Linked DNA regions of Homo sapiens: regions 1, 2, 3 and 5 are each linked to region 4. The links are contacts of gene promoters, found by promoter capture Hi-C in blood cells and fetal thymus (Javierre and others, 2016). All regions are on one chromosome and are shown on one strand. Each heading gives the region's core, a stretch centred on a gene start or on the middle of the fragment in contact. The rest is flanking DNA. Distances are from core to core; before and after follow the strand shown.

Region 1 (2,700 bases), core at 132-2,631, 370 kb before region 4:
AGTAGAATAAGACTGCCCAAACAATATTGCAAAGCTGCTTAGGAATTTCCATCACTAAAAATAGTATTATGTTACTTTGGGATAAAAGATTTTTAATTTATAGTGTAGCTCCCATGTAAGGATATGTATATTAACCTAGAACAACCTTGCTAGTTTCCATACGCCAGACTTAAAAATAAATTTATGATTAAAACCTTTTTAAGAATTCCAACAATACTGAGTGACCATCAATTCTTTAGAAAATGGGAACTAATTAATGGAAATTTTCTTCAAAGAATCTGACCTATTAAACATGATATTAAATATTCATCTATTTTAAAAGCTGCAAATGTCAATGAAAAAAATAAAGCTGTCAAATGCTAGGAGCATTTCATTAAGAAAGCAGCTTCAAACATTGATGAGAGTTTTATAAAGTTAGGAACTCTCAAGCTTTACCTCCTAGTGAAGAAGTTACTAATATTGTCTTTATTATAATCAAAATGCCAAAAGAGCAGGAAAACAGCAGTATGGGGCCCTGAATTGAAGTCCCTCTTTTTCCATGTTTCTACTAGCCCAGCCCTTTTGTAAATAAAACCTTTATACAACTAAAGCAGCACTGACTTCAATGGGAAGTTATGATATCAGTGCTACAGTGAAATGGATTGCTACAAACAGAATAAGAGAGGAATAGATTGGATAATCAACACATATAGCAACTCAAAAGGATCGTTTTAGTGATTTCTTTTAATCTTCTCTACTACTAAGTATTTCACATAAGGATGCTTTTGGCTGCAAGTAACAGAATATCCAACTAACAGTGGCATTAAAAAAAGGGGTTCTGGTTTTCTATTGCTATAATATATAACAAACCAAAATTTAGTGGCTTAAAATAACATTTATTTTGTTCCTAGTCTGCAATTTGGGAAGGGCTTGGTGGGTGGCAGCTTGTCTGCTCCACTTGGCACCAGCTAGGGCACTTGAAGACTGGGGCCAGAGTCATCTGAAGGCTGCTTCACTCTCATGTTTGACAGTTCTTGCTGAGAAGACTCAGAGAGCTAGAGGCTGGTACAGCTGGGGCTCCTCAGGCATCTCGATTTCTGTGTGTTCTCCCACATGAGTTCTTCAGCATGGCAGCTTCAATGTAGACTGACTTCTAACATGTCAGCTCAAAGCTCCCAAGGCACATGTCAGAGAGAAGAAAAAGGCAGAAACCGCATCACTTGTGAACCTAGCATGGAGAGTCATGCAGTGTCACATCTACTGAATTCTACTAGTTAGAATCAAGTGGGTAAGGCTGGCCTATATTCAAGGGAGGGTGAATTAGACTTTGCTGGGAGGAGTGTCAAAGAATTTGTGGCCTTGTATTAAACCTACCACAAAGGGATTTATTTTTCATGTATGATGTCTAAAGGGAAGCAGTACTGTATAATATGGGGCTCCATGATCTAATAAAAACCAAGGGTTCATCTGTTCATCTATAATTCTGCTCTACCATTTTTAGATTGGCATATTGTCTCAAAGTTGCAAGCTGACTGCTATAGATCCAGACATTGTAGCCATGTTCAAGACCAAGAGGGGTGGAAAGAATAGTGCCTGCAGTTCTGGCCTCTTTTATTAGGAAATCAAAAGCCGTTCCCAAAACCCACCTCAGCAGAATTCTGCTTATGCCACATTGGCCAGAACTGTTACAAGGCCACCCCTTGCTTCAAGGGAGGTTAGAGCAGTGAATATTCAGCTTCTCCTTTCTCTACTGTAGAGGTCAGCGAGGATGAAGAGAGCCAGAAATGGGCATTGGGTCAGTCAAGCCATGCTTCTGACCTGCAAAGCCTCCATATCAGACCCAAAAATTCACAAGTAAGTAAGTAAGAGCTTCAAAGAACTTCTCTCCCTCAGCCAAGGTTAACTATAAAATGACCCAAATATGCTTAACAGACCAAAAAAAAAATTGGCTAATGAATGGAACTATTTACAACTGTATTTTTGCAAATAGAATCAAAAGCTAGATATTGAATTAAATGAATTGTTTCTACAGTTTAAACAGGAAGCAGAATGGGTTTCCCACAGAGCCATTTGCCGGCAAGATAGGAGGGACAAGGAAGAGGAGAGACCACTGACTTGTGATAAAATGTGAAAGCTGCCCTGCAGATTACCTTGGCTTCAGAGGCCTGGGGCCTAAAAATAATTTGGGGGCAGGGCAAAGAGGAACTCTTCACTTGTAAACCTAACCCAAATTCTATATCTTATTTTATAGAACATTCCTTCTTTTAACCTTGTTACTCACTAGTGAATGGAAACAGGAAAAACATTGTGAGTTGATGGATTTTATCTAACCCATCTGCAACGATTATTCAAATGTAAGCTTTAAAGTTTTATAACATTTAGCTAAAGAAGAATCAAAACTCTTTTCATTGCCCCGTGTAAGCACAAACACTCTCCTCGCCCTGCCAATTTGCCAGTCTACTGTCTCATGCTATGGTCTCATACAAGGATAAAAAAAATCACACCACAGCAGATATTTTTATAGACCCTTCATTCATACAAGCCTTGGCATATGACCGCAACAATAGCTAAAACTGAAAAATGAGACAACTGGATTTACTGACTGATAGTGTCTAGAACTCTCTCCCAGGTAATTTAATAGATGTACGTGAAAATGTGTGCTTTAAGGAGGACGCTGAATGTGAAGAAAGAATGCAACCACAGTGAGAGCTCCAGTACAAT
Region 2 (2,700 bases), core at 3-2,502, 510 kb after region 4:
AAAAAAAATGACATTCTGCTCAATCTTCTCATGGTTTCCTGTCTGTCTCATTCTTTACCATTGTCTACAAGGTACTTTCTGGTCTGTTTTCCCACCACCTTTCTAACCCTATCCTACCACTCTTTTTCAGCCACATTAGTCTCTTTGCTGTTGGCCAGACCAATTCCTACCTAGGACCTTTAGCTGTTTTCTCTTCTTGGTTTACTTTTCCCCCTCAAATATCCACATGGCTTACTCTTTGACTTCATTCAGGACTCAAACTGTTTAAGAGTTTTCTTCCATGACCATCTTGTGCAAAGTAGCACCTTCCTATCCTGTTTCCTTTATTTCTGCTCTGATATATTTTACTCGTTTGTTGTCTCCTCTTCCAAGCCTTTAAGCTTAATGAGAACAGAGATTTTGTTTTGTTCTCTATTACTTCTCCAGCTCTAGAATGGTACCTTGCGTATAAGAAGTGGTGCTTAATAAATATTTGTTAAATTAATTTAGTTTTTTCTAAATGTTGTGACCCAAGATAATCCTGGTGCAAACAGCAGAACTTGTTGACTAAAATAAGAAGGATAATTTAAAAGATCATATTGAACATTAGGGGGAAAAGAGCTTAAGCTTCTTAAGCTACTAAGACCCTCCCTCCCTCAAATAATTTAGAATATCCTGTAACTATACGAATTGGTAATCATTCTGATTATTTTAAATTTGTTTTTCTTTTTGAGGTATAATTCATATGCCATAAAATGCAGGCTTTTAAATGTACAATTCAATGATAATTTATTATATTTATGAAGTTTAGCAACCATTACCACTGTCTCATTCCAGAACATTTCATCACTCCAAGAAGGAACCTTGTACCTGGTTAGCAGTCACTCCCATTTCCTCTCTTCCTATCTGCTGGCAACTGCTAACGTGCTCTGGATATGCCTGTTCTGGACATTTCATCTAAATGGAATCATAAAATACGTAGTCCTATGTGACTGGCTTTTTTCCTTAGCATAATGATTTTAAGGTTCATCCATGTTGAAGCATGCATCAGCATTTCTTTTTATGGCTGAGTAATATTCCACTACATGGATATAGCACTTTTTTCTTTTAATCTATCAGTCGATGGACGTCTAGGTTATTTCCACTTTTGGCTATTAAGGAAAATGCCCCTGTGAATATTTGTGTACCCATTTTGTGTGAACATGTATTTTCAGTTCTGTTGGATGTGTACCTAGGAATGGAATTACTGGGTTAATATAGTAACTCTATGTTTAAATGTTTGAGGAATTACCAGATTATTTGCCAGAGGCATTGTGCCATTTTATTAATACGTGCTCATCAGCAATGTGCAATGGTTCCAGTTTCTCCACATATTTATTTATTTATTTATTTATTGAGACAGAGTCTCACTCTGTCACCCAGGCTGGAGTGCAGTGGCGCAATCTTGGCTCATTGCAACTTCTGCCTCCCAGGTTCAAGCGATTCTCCTGTCTCAGCCTCCCAGCGTGGGACTACAGGCACACGCCACCATGCCTGGCTAATTTTTGAATTTTTAGTAGAGACGGGGTTTCACCATGTTGGTCAGGCTGGTCTTGAACTCCTGACCTCATGATCCTCCTGCCTTGGCCTCCCAAAGTGCTGAGATTATAGGCGTGAGCCACTGCACCCGGCCTCTCCACATCTTTAATACTTGTCTTTTTGATTATAGCCACCCTAGTGGGTATGGGGTGGTATCTTGTGGTTTTGATTTGCACTTCCCCAATAGTTAATGATATTGTACATCTTTTTATTGTAGCAAAAAGTGGAAGCAACCCAAATGTCCATGAACTGATGGATACATTTCTTTTAATGTTGTATATTTATAATGGAAAATTATTCACCCATAAAAGTAAGTGGTGATGCATGCTGTAACAGTGGATGAAGCTTGAAAACATGCTAGTTAAAGAAGGCTGGTCACAAGGGACCTCCTATTGTATGATTCCATTTAGATGAAATGTCTAGGATAGGCCAGTCCAGAGACAGAAATTAGGTTTAGTGGTTCCATAGGGTACAGGGATGGGAAGGAATGGGAGCGATGGCTAATGGATATGGAGTTTCTTTTTGGGGTGATGAAAATGTTTTAAAATTGATTATGGTGGTGGTTATAACACTGTGAAATACTAAAAACCACTGAATTATATATTTTGAATGACTGAATTCTATGGTATGTTATACAAGATGAACAAAAATGTGTACTCGTATAGTTAAGAAATATTTTTAGTTTTTAAAATTATTTATTTTTAGAGACAGGATCTCACTGTGTTGCCCAGGCTGGAGTGCAGTAGTGTGATTATAGGTTACTGTAGCCTCAAACTCCTGGGCTCAAGCAATCCTCGTGCCTCAACCTTCTAAGCAGCTGGGATTACAGGCATGAGCCACTGTGCCCAGCTGTTGTTTTAGATAAAAGCAGATTAAGACCTTTTTACAGAAGAATAACAGTAATAATATTGATCTCTTTTTACTTTGTATCCTCACCCCTTAAACACTTTTTAGGTTTGCCCTTGTTGGTGTTGGATCTGAAGCATCTTCAAAAAAGTTAATGGATCTGTTACCTAAAAGAGAACTTCATGGTCAGAATCCTGTTGTAACTCCATGCAATAAACAGTTCCTGAGTCAATTTGAAATGCAGTCCAGGAAAAGTAAGCAGTCCTCAGAGGCTTTTATTAAAATATGTACATTTTA
Region 3 (2,700 bases), core at 160-2,659, 490 kb before region 4:
TCTAGATGTTTTTCCCAACACCTTTCTCATCTTACGCAACCTGAGTTGCCTTTTTTCCGAAGACAAACCAATGCGGCTTCTGTACACTTAAGTTCCAGACCCCATTCACCACTATAAACTCAAGATGTGACTCAGTCAAAGCAAAAGCAAATACTCTATGATCCCAAATGACTCCTGATAACACTGCTGCCAAGACACTTCTTCCTGCTAGCTTAGGGGTAGGGGGAAGGAGAGAGAGTTGGGGTAAGGGGGTCTCTGTGGAAGGAGGGAAGGAGGGGTAGGTGGGCATAGGCTGAGAGCTGAACTTACACATGTGCTTAGCCTGTTGCTGAGCCTGGCCAGGAAGGGCACCACCTCCTGCATATAAGGCTGGAACCTATCAGATTGAGGGAACAGCACTTCTTCAAGGGTGAAGTTCAGCACCTGCTTCATCAGATAGCAGCGCTCACTCATCTGCAGGTGGAAGGGAAACAGAAAGGGTCATAAGGGATAAGACCTAAACCATCATCACCACCACCCCAAGTACCCATGGACGGCACACGGCCCTGTTCGTCACAACTGTAGCTTACACTGACTCCGTGGAACAGTTTCTCCCCAATGAGACGAACGTCTGTGTTGTTATCAGCCAAGCTAGCCTGGAAGAGAAGAAAAGACTAAGGGTCTGGACATTGAGCAAATAGAAAAAAAATTTATACATAGACATGTGCCCCATCCCGTCTCCCCAGAGCAACATCATAAAGACTAAAAGCAGAATTCAGATGTGTGCATGAGTTTAGAACAATGCACAGAGGCATAAAGGAAAAAAAAAATCATCAGATGGATTACTGAATGGCCGCTCTTTGGGAAAAATTCATCATATGTATCATAAAGGCCAAAATGGAAGGAAGAAGTTCAAGAAAAAAAAAAAAGCCAGATTCCCAAAGAGTCTCTGAAAAAACAGAAAATTTATCTACCCTCAGGGATAAACAGTGGGTTCCTAAAGCTCTTAGAGATGCTCTGAAGAAAAGTTTAAGAACTATTTGGATTCCAAGTAGATCCAACGAGAAAGAGCAGGATTGAGATGTATACCTCCTTAGCCAGCATGAAGGTGCGGTTGGTGATATAGGGCTGCTGGAAGTTGGACTTGTCAAGCCTGCAGTGGGAGCTGATGGGCGCAGCTGCTCCTCCCTGTACCAAGAGGGCCAAGAGAAGGAGGCAGCTGGTGGCCAGGGTCCCCATAAGGAAAGAGCTCACAGATTTCTGCAGGGCGGCCATTGCAGACAATTCTAACTCGAGCAACTGGTGACTGGGGAAGGAGAACCTGGTCGAAGACAACGTGAAGGAACAAAATTAGTCAAGAAGTATTTCATCAAACTAACCAATTGTACCAAGTTTGCCGAAACGCTTACCTGTTCTGAAGATTCTGCTTGTGACGGGGAAGGTAGAAGCTGCTGCTTTTATAGCCCCCAGGATACTGACTTTTTTTTAATTGTGAAAAATATGACATCAGCAATTATCTAATTTCCAGTACTGTCTTCTGAGAACGACCTAACCACCACAGGAGCCCACAAAACACCACCTCTATCCTTTCCACCTTGAGATGCAAGTGTTTCCCTAAAACGTCACTATTAGAGCCCGGAGGGTATTTTACAGACAAATCCCAGAAATTTTCTAAACCCTACATATTTTTCAAAGAACACAATTGTTTTGTCTTAGTAGAGTTCAGATTTAGTATAAAATGTTTTGATCTCCTATAGTGGCTGAGTAAGCATTTTGGTCACGGACTCATTTTCCTACCAGCTTTATAGATTCTTATCTCATTGGAGGTGATCAGAAAAAAAGGACCCATGTCCTATATCCTCTGCTTTAAAGTAAATGGTAATGACAGCTAACAGATCATTCCATTATTAAAATAATTTTATCTCATTTTTAAACATGCTGAATTCTAAACCAGACTTATGTTTCAAAAATAACTGTCTTGGCTAATCTAATTATTGTTTTCTTCCCTTTTTGGAACTATTTTTAAGTGATCATAACAATTAAGGCAGAAGTAAATATATCTTAAAATTGTATTAATTGAATTATAATCAATATCAACTTAAGTTTGTAAATACTAATGCTGAAAATCTGATCTCCTTTTTTCTTAACATGTAAACTTTTTTTAAAATAAAAGAATACCATGGATATAGTTCATCTTAAAATTTTACCTAATTCTACACTTCACACAAGTCTCAACATAATATTTCCAAATAATCCTATAACAACTATATATGTGTGTGTATATATATTATATATGTGTGTATACTATATATATACATATATATGCAACATTTTATATATATACATATATACACACACACACATGGATGTCTGAAGAAGGGAATATAGGAATATAGAGGTTCCGCGTTACCTTCAAATTATTTAAAAATACACCTAAAACTAGACTGGAAATTCTCCCGCAGAGCAAGGAAGCAAATGCAAGTATCAAAATGCAAATACCTATTGCTGAGGGAAGGAATGTGAATTAGTGCAAATTTGTATAATCAGATTTTTCTCCTCACAACTAGTTAAGATCAGGAGTGTTGAAGAACTGGAAGTAGGGATGTAAATAATTGTAAAACCTAGACCACTTTTTGAGATGGCACAGACCTAAGCAAGGTGCCACTGCAAAGGGTCGGAACCACATGAGGACACTGAGCATTTGTGAAGGTGGCCAGAGGA
Region 4 (2,700 bases), core at 87-2,586:
TTTCAGGCAACTTAATTTAGTTCCTCAGTGCCTACTCTTGAAGAACTGGGTTTTCATTCTAGAGAGGAAACTCAGGGAAGGGCGTGTTGCCTATCACAGGTTCGCATACTAAGTTTTAAAAACTTTTCTTGGTGTGACTTATGCCAAGGAATTATGAAGACTTTTTCCTTGAGCATTGCATGAAGGCTACAAAGTTGGAACAGGCATGTCCTGGGTGTGAAAGTTTTAATTTCCCTACCTCATTTATTTATTTAATTTAGAGATGGGGGTCTCACTATGTTGCCCATCCCGGCTTCCAACTCCTGGGCTCAAGCAATCCTCCCACGTCAGTCTCTCAAATAGCTGGGACTACAGGCCCACGCCACCATGCCCTACTTCCTCATTTATTTTAAATTTTTTGTACCACAGTCTCTCTTTTTAATTTTATGACTGCTGAATTAATCCTAGACTCTGTCTTAAAACTAAGAATTGATGTATTGGCAGGAACAGCTGGACATTCAAGATGTTTTTGTGATTCCTTTTTTAAAAATCTCCTTTTGTACCTGTAATATCTACAATATATAATCTTTCTTTATCGACTTAAGGAGGAAGGAGAAAGGAAGAACCTGACTTCTGTGTGAAGGACCTTACTGTCGATCAAGACTGTTACTCAAAGTTCTATCTCTTAGTCATTGCACCTGACCTGATCCAAAACATATATATATATTTGTATGCACCCCTAGAGACAGCTGTATATATATACGGTTTTGCCAGGTTGTACGTTTTTTTCTCGAGTTGTAAGTGAACACAGTAGCACTCGTTTACATTGTCAAGGGGACATCTTTAGAGAACACATTTTCTCACTGTTGAGCTAATAATGCTTTGTGAATGTATGATCTAAGGAGAAACCCTTGTAGTTATACCCGATGATGCTGTCTGTTGGAAAGTAAATTTTGAATGTCTTTTTCCAAAAATAAAAAATAAAAACATGCTTTCAATAAGTTCTTTCCCCCCTCTGGCGAGGGCTACTAAATTTGCTCAGCATTTAATACGTAAAATTGGCTAACAGTGTCTGCACAGCCAGAGAGAAGTTGTCTAGCAAATCGGGTCAATGACACACAGGAAACAAACATCAAGAAAGGGGTCCTAGATTGGTCCAGTCAGGTAGGCGTTAGGTGACCAAGGGGGTCGGGGACCCAGAGGATAGGACCCAAAGACGCAAGCGTCGCGCGCCCAAGGCTCAGCGCGCCTGCGCAGGGTAGCGGCCGTTCAGCCAGCGGCTCGGGGGCGGAAGCACTGGAGCCCCGAGTCACGTGGCTGCGGGCGGAGATGAGCGGGGCGTGGGACGTGCTGCGGCGTCCTAGCTGGCTTACAGGGCGGCGGCGGGGTGTGTGTCCTCTGTTAAGAGTGCTACTCGCCCGGGGTTGATCTGTGCATGCCACTCCTGGGTCAGACGGTGAGGTCGGCGTCTGCGAGGACGCGGCGGTGGAGTAGAAGGGCAGCCGGAGACAGGCCCGGCGCCCCTTCCGAGGCTAGACGGCCCCAGCTTCGCGGGGATCATGGCATTGCTGGTGGACCGAGTGCGGGGCCACTGGCGAATCGCCGCCGGGCTCCTGTTCAACCTGCTGGTGTCCATCTGCATTGTGTTCCTCAACAAATGGATTTATGTGTACCACGGCTTCCCCAACATGAGCCTGACCCTGGTGCACTTCGTGGTCACCTGGCTGGGCTTGTATATCTGCCAGAAGCTGGACATCTTTGCCCCCAAAAGTCTGCCGCCCTCCAGGCTCCTCCTCCTGGCCCTCAGCTTCTGTGGCTTTGTGGTCTTCACTAACCTTTCTCTGCAGAACAACACCATAGGCACCTATCAGCTGGCCAAGGCCATGACCACGCCGGTGATCATAGCCATCCAGACCTTCTGCTACCAGAAAACCTTCTCCACCAGAATCCAGCTCACGCTGGTGAGTAGCTTCAGCTTCCCAAGGCGCCGCTCTCCCGACCCACCTCCTGCACTGGCCCCGGGAAATTCGAACGCACACTGGTCTTTCCCTTCATCTTGAAATCCACAAATGAGTCATCTGTGGGCATGTGAACTTTTAGGCTTATTTTAGGGAGGGGGAAAAGGCCATCTTGTCAGCCCAGAAGAGTGGGCATGTGTGAATTTTAGTAGCTGCCATTTGATGGAAATCGTTAAATGCTGTGATCGATAAGAAAAAAAGCTGTATTGGGTGGTACAGTCCAGTGTTATCAGAATATCTGCAAAAGCTCAAACAAAAACAGCCTTTCTCCCCCAGGGGAATCAAATCGTGTATGATAAAACGTGAAAAGATGTAGCATAAAGTAGGTCTCAAAACGTCTGCAGCACCATACTTTAGAGCTGTCTGCATCTTTAAATAAAAGGAGGTGGACTCAATTTTAGCACTTAGTAACTTATTTAAGGTCTTTTTCTTTTTTTTTTTTTTCTTTTTGAGACGGAATTTCACTCTTGTTGCCCAGGCTGGAGTGCAATGGCACGATCTCGGCTCACCGCAACCTCCGCCTCCCGGGTTTAAGCGATTCTCCTGCCTCAGCCTCCCGAGTAGCTGGGATTACAGGCATGCGCCACCACGCCCGGCTAATTTTGTATTTTTAGTAAAGACGGGGTTTCTCCATGTTAATCAGGCTGGTCTCGAACTCTGACCTCAGGTGATCTGCCCGCCTTGGCCTCCGAAAGCGCTGGGG
Region 5 (2,700 bases), core at 116-2,615, 430 kb before region 4:
TGAAACAGCAATGTAAAAGCAATTGTAGAAACATAGCTCCTTAACAAGGTACGATTTTGAATGCAAAGATGAAAGTGTTACATCTCTAGGGAATTGGCCAAAGCAAAAGACAGCACCTATATGGCATAAGAAACCATATAATCCCAACAGAGTCCTACTCTAATGAACCATACCTGAAAAAAGTTCCTAAAGGATAATTTGAAATATTTTCTTCACTGCCAAAAAAAAAGCTATGTTCATTTATCATTTCTATCAACTCCTATACCTTTAAAGAAAATTTCTAGCAGTGGTTTTTGCATTTAACAGGTAGAAGTGAGGTACATGAATTAACTCTACTGAACTTCTAACCAGGGTATTCTGAATGCACAGGAACCTTGTTATAAAGTGCCTCGATATACTCCAGATTTTATTGCCAGTAAGTGCCCCCATGCTTCAAATGTTTCAGGGCCACTCCATCACCTACATGCCTCAGCATCACTTCCTCCTCTGTGTTCTCAGAGTTCTTTGGGCACATCCCCATTAATACATATTCAATTTTACTGGAATTAATTGCACATGCCCTCCTCCTCCATCAACCTATGAACTTCTTGAGGTGAGGGAAAACGCAGCACTTAAGCACTGAGCCCACAACCTGTCCTGAGTGCAGACTAAGTGGTATGCCTGAGCTAAACATGGCAGCCAAAGATAAGCAAGAAACTCCCTGCACTCAGTGAGCCAACCTGTACATAAATTGTCATAATATTGATGGGGGTCTATGCCATAATAAACAAATGAAATGAAATGTAAGTTGAAGGAGTAGTTCAAAAGGGGGACCAATCAGTCCTGCACTGTGTTGGGTAGATTGACGGGGCAGTGGGGGTGGAAGGGACAGCAGAGGCAGCTGCATCTATCCATGCATGATGAATGAAAGGATGGATGAATACCCTCCATGTACACAGTCATCCAGTTTTATTTGACGTCAATTTTATTTAGAAAGGAGGGGGAGAGTATACTTCATAAAAATTCTGAAGACTTTGATTTATTCAGTTCTATTTGTTACTGACATTTAAAACTAAGTGCTTTAAATTTACTATATCAACAATCTTTATTAATCTCAGTGCTAATATTATATTTTACAAATATGATTTTAAATATCTTTAGCCCTAAACTAAGATGAAAAATTAAAAGGCTGACATTTTCCAAAGTAGTATGTTCTACTAAAAAGAGGAGGAAAAAAATCAATAGCATGAACTCAATGTTAAATAGAACAATCCCTATAGCCAACTGCCAGAGCCACCAAAAAGGATAGAAATAAACCATTCCCAACTCAACAACATACACACACCTTTCTGGGCCAAGTAATGTTATCATATTATATATTATGATACAATTATAAGTAGAATGTTTCCTTTTCTGAATTTCTTTGTCCAAATTAAGAGTTCAACTAAATTATTTAAAACATATGCAGAAAATTCAAACTCAAGAAACTGGGGATAAAAACTCCTTTTACCCAAAAACCATCCCCCCAAAATGAGGGGTCACTTTATACCTAGTCTTTACAATGTCTGTCAAATTACAGGACATCTCTCAAATGCAGGACTTTATCTTGAAACACAGTCCTATTTGTGGAAGACACATTGGAATAAAATCACCTCAACCAATCGATGATGAAAAGATTACCTAACAATTAAGAAAAAAAGAAGTTTAACATAGATTAAGTAGTTATTCTGAGGATAGAACCTAAAAAGTTCTAATTGCTGACTATTAAGAAACAATCCCTTAAGTGAGCATTTTAAAAAGCAATAGTCAAGTGGTTATTATAATGGAGATGACAAATACACAACCACTGGGCAAATAAAACCAACCACCCTAATGCTCTATGAGAGGTAACTGGGACTTGGCATAGAATTTCCAGTGACTAGACTATAAACAGATTCAAAAAGTATATCTCAAACATAGAAAGAAATAAAGATGATATATGGACTCGAAAACTAATGTGACTCAAAAAGTGAGTTAATATTCCAACAACAAAGTCACTTATGTCTGAGTGCATGTGAGGAGTGTGAATACACTCCTTCCTGAAATGTTAGGAGTGGGAAAATGAAGGAGTACTGTACCTTATATTTAGGAACCTCATAATCAGATGCCTATAGTAAATGACTTCCAAGAGATATAAGTAAAACATGGCTCATATTAAATGTCTATAACCTGGTCAACTAAAACTGTTATCATCAATGATCACTGACTTCTTAGCTAAAAATTCTTATTCTTTTCCAACTTCAATTTACTTTTTGAATTATTTTTCTCAAAGAAATTAAGGCAAACTATACCACTAATTTAAATATTTACAACCACCATTATAGTATTTAATAAGCAAAAAAAGCTGCATTACCAAGATATCATAATAGGAAACCTTGAAAAGTCTATCTTAAATTGACAACAACAATGTTCTCTTCCATCAAGGCAGGATAAGGAATCTCATCTTACTATGACTTCAGTTTTAACAATCTTCTCAATTAGATGTTTAGTTCTGATGCCTAAACTCATCTTAGTTTAAAGAAATCGCTGCTCGGCCTTTTGGCTGAGATCAAGCGTAGAAATCTCAGAGAAAACACAGTCTTCAAAACAAAGAGTTTCTCATAACCTCAACCTAGTGTCACGCCTAAACACAACAGGCCAGCGGCTGACATCAATTTACCAGCCACACATACTGTTCTGCCT

The links. The method cuts DNA at HindIII sites, captures the fragments that hold promoters and counts their contacts. A CHiCAGO score of 5 or more calls a contact.
Region 1: a contact is called between a fragment that was not itself captured here and the fragment with the promoter of SLC35E3 in region 4, in 4 of 17 cell types (naive CD8 T cells, activated CD4 T cells, non-activated CD4 T cells and 1 more). The highest score is 9.2, in naive CD8 T cells.
Region 2: a contact is called between a fragment that was not itself captured here and the fragment with the promoter of SLC35E3 in region 4, in 1 of 17 cell types (M0 macrophages). The highest score is 7.1, in M0 macrophages.
Region 3: the fragment with the promoter of IL22 here is called in contact with the fragment with the promoter of SLC35E3 in region 4 in 1 of 17 cell types (megakaryocytes); the score reaches 5.7 in megakaryocytes.
Region 5: a fragment that was not itself captured here is called in contact with the fragment with the promoter of SLC35E3 in region 4 in 4 of 17 cell types (erythroblasts, megakaryocytes, fetal thymus and 1 more); the score reaches 6.6 in erythroblasts.

What each region holds. Positions count from the first base shown.
Region 1 is chr12:68,379,581-68,382,280 of GRCh38, forward strand. No RefSeq gene overlaps it. Among named protein-coding and RNA genes, the nearest start is that of MDM1, 49 kb to the left of the region's middle. The HindIII fragment of the contact is 1,909 bases long and covers 428-2,336 here.
Region 2 is chr12:69,254,186-69,256,885 of GRCh38, forward strand. It overlaps CPSF6 (cleavage and polyadenylation specific factor 6), which reads left to right. Exons shown (of 10, transcript NM_007007.3): 4 at 2,512-2,657. Among named protein-coding and RNA genes, the nearest start is that of CPSF6, 16 kb to the left of the region's middle. The HindIII fragment of the contact is 1,296 bases long and covers 605-1,900 here.
Region 3 is chr12:68,252,195-68,254,894 of GRCh38, forward strand. IL22 (interleukin 22) reads right to left here and starts at 1,410. Exons shown (of 6, transcript NM_020525.5): 1 at 1,389-1,410; 2 at 1,069-1,300; 3 at 570-635; 4 at 310-453. The coding sequence starts at 1,254. The HindIII fragment of the contact is 7,204 bases long and covers 1-2,700 here.
Region 4 is chr12:68,744,840-68,747,539 of GRCh38, forward strand. It overlaps SLC35E3 (solute carrier family 35 member E3), which reads left to right and starts at 1,337. Exons shown (of 5, transcript NM_018656.5): 1 at 1,337-1,940. The coding sequence starts at 1,539. It overlaps NUP107 (nucleoporin 107), which reads left to right. Exons shown (of 28, transcript NM_020401.4): 28 at 1-970. RefSeq lists enhancers at 1,010-1,700, 1,550-1,649, 1,700-1,809, 2,170-2,359. The HindIII fragment of the contact is 13,773 bases long and covers 1-2,700 here.
Region 5 is chr12:68,317,428-68,320,127 of GRCh38, forward strand. All of the region lies in intron 7 of MDM1 (Mdm1 nuclear protein), which reads right to left. Among named protein-coding and RNA genes, the nearest start is that of MDM1, 14 kb to the right of the region's middle. The HindIII fragment of the contact is 5,517 bases long and covers 1-2,700 here.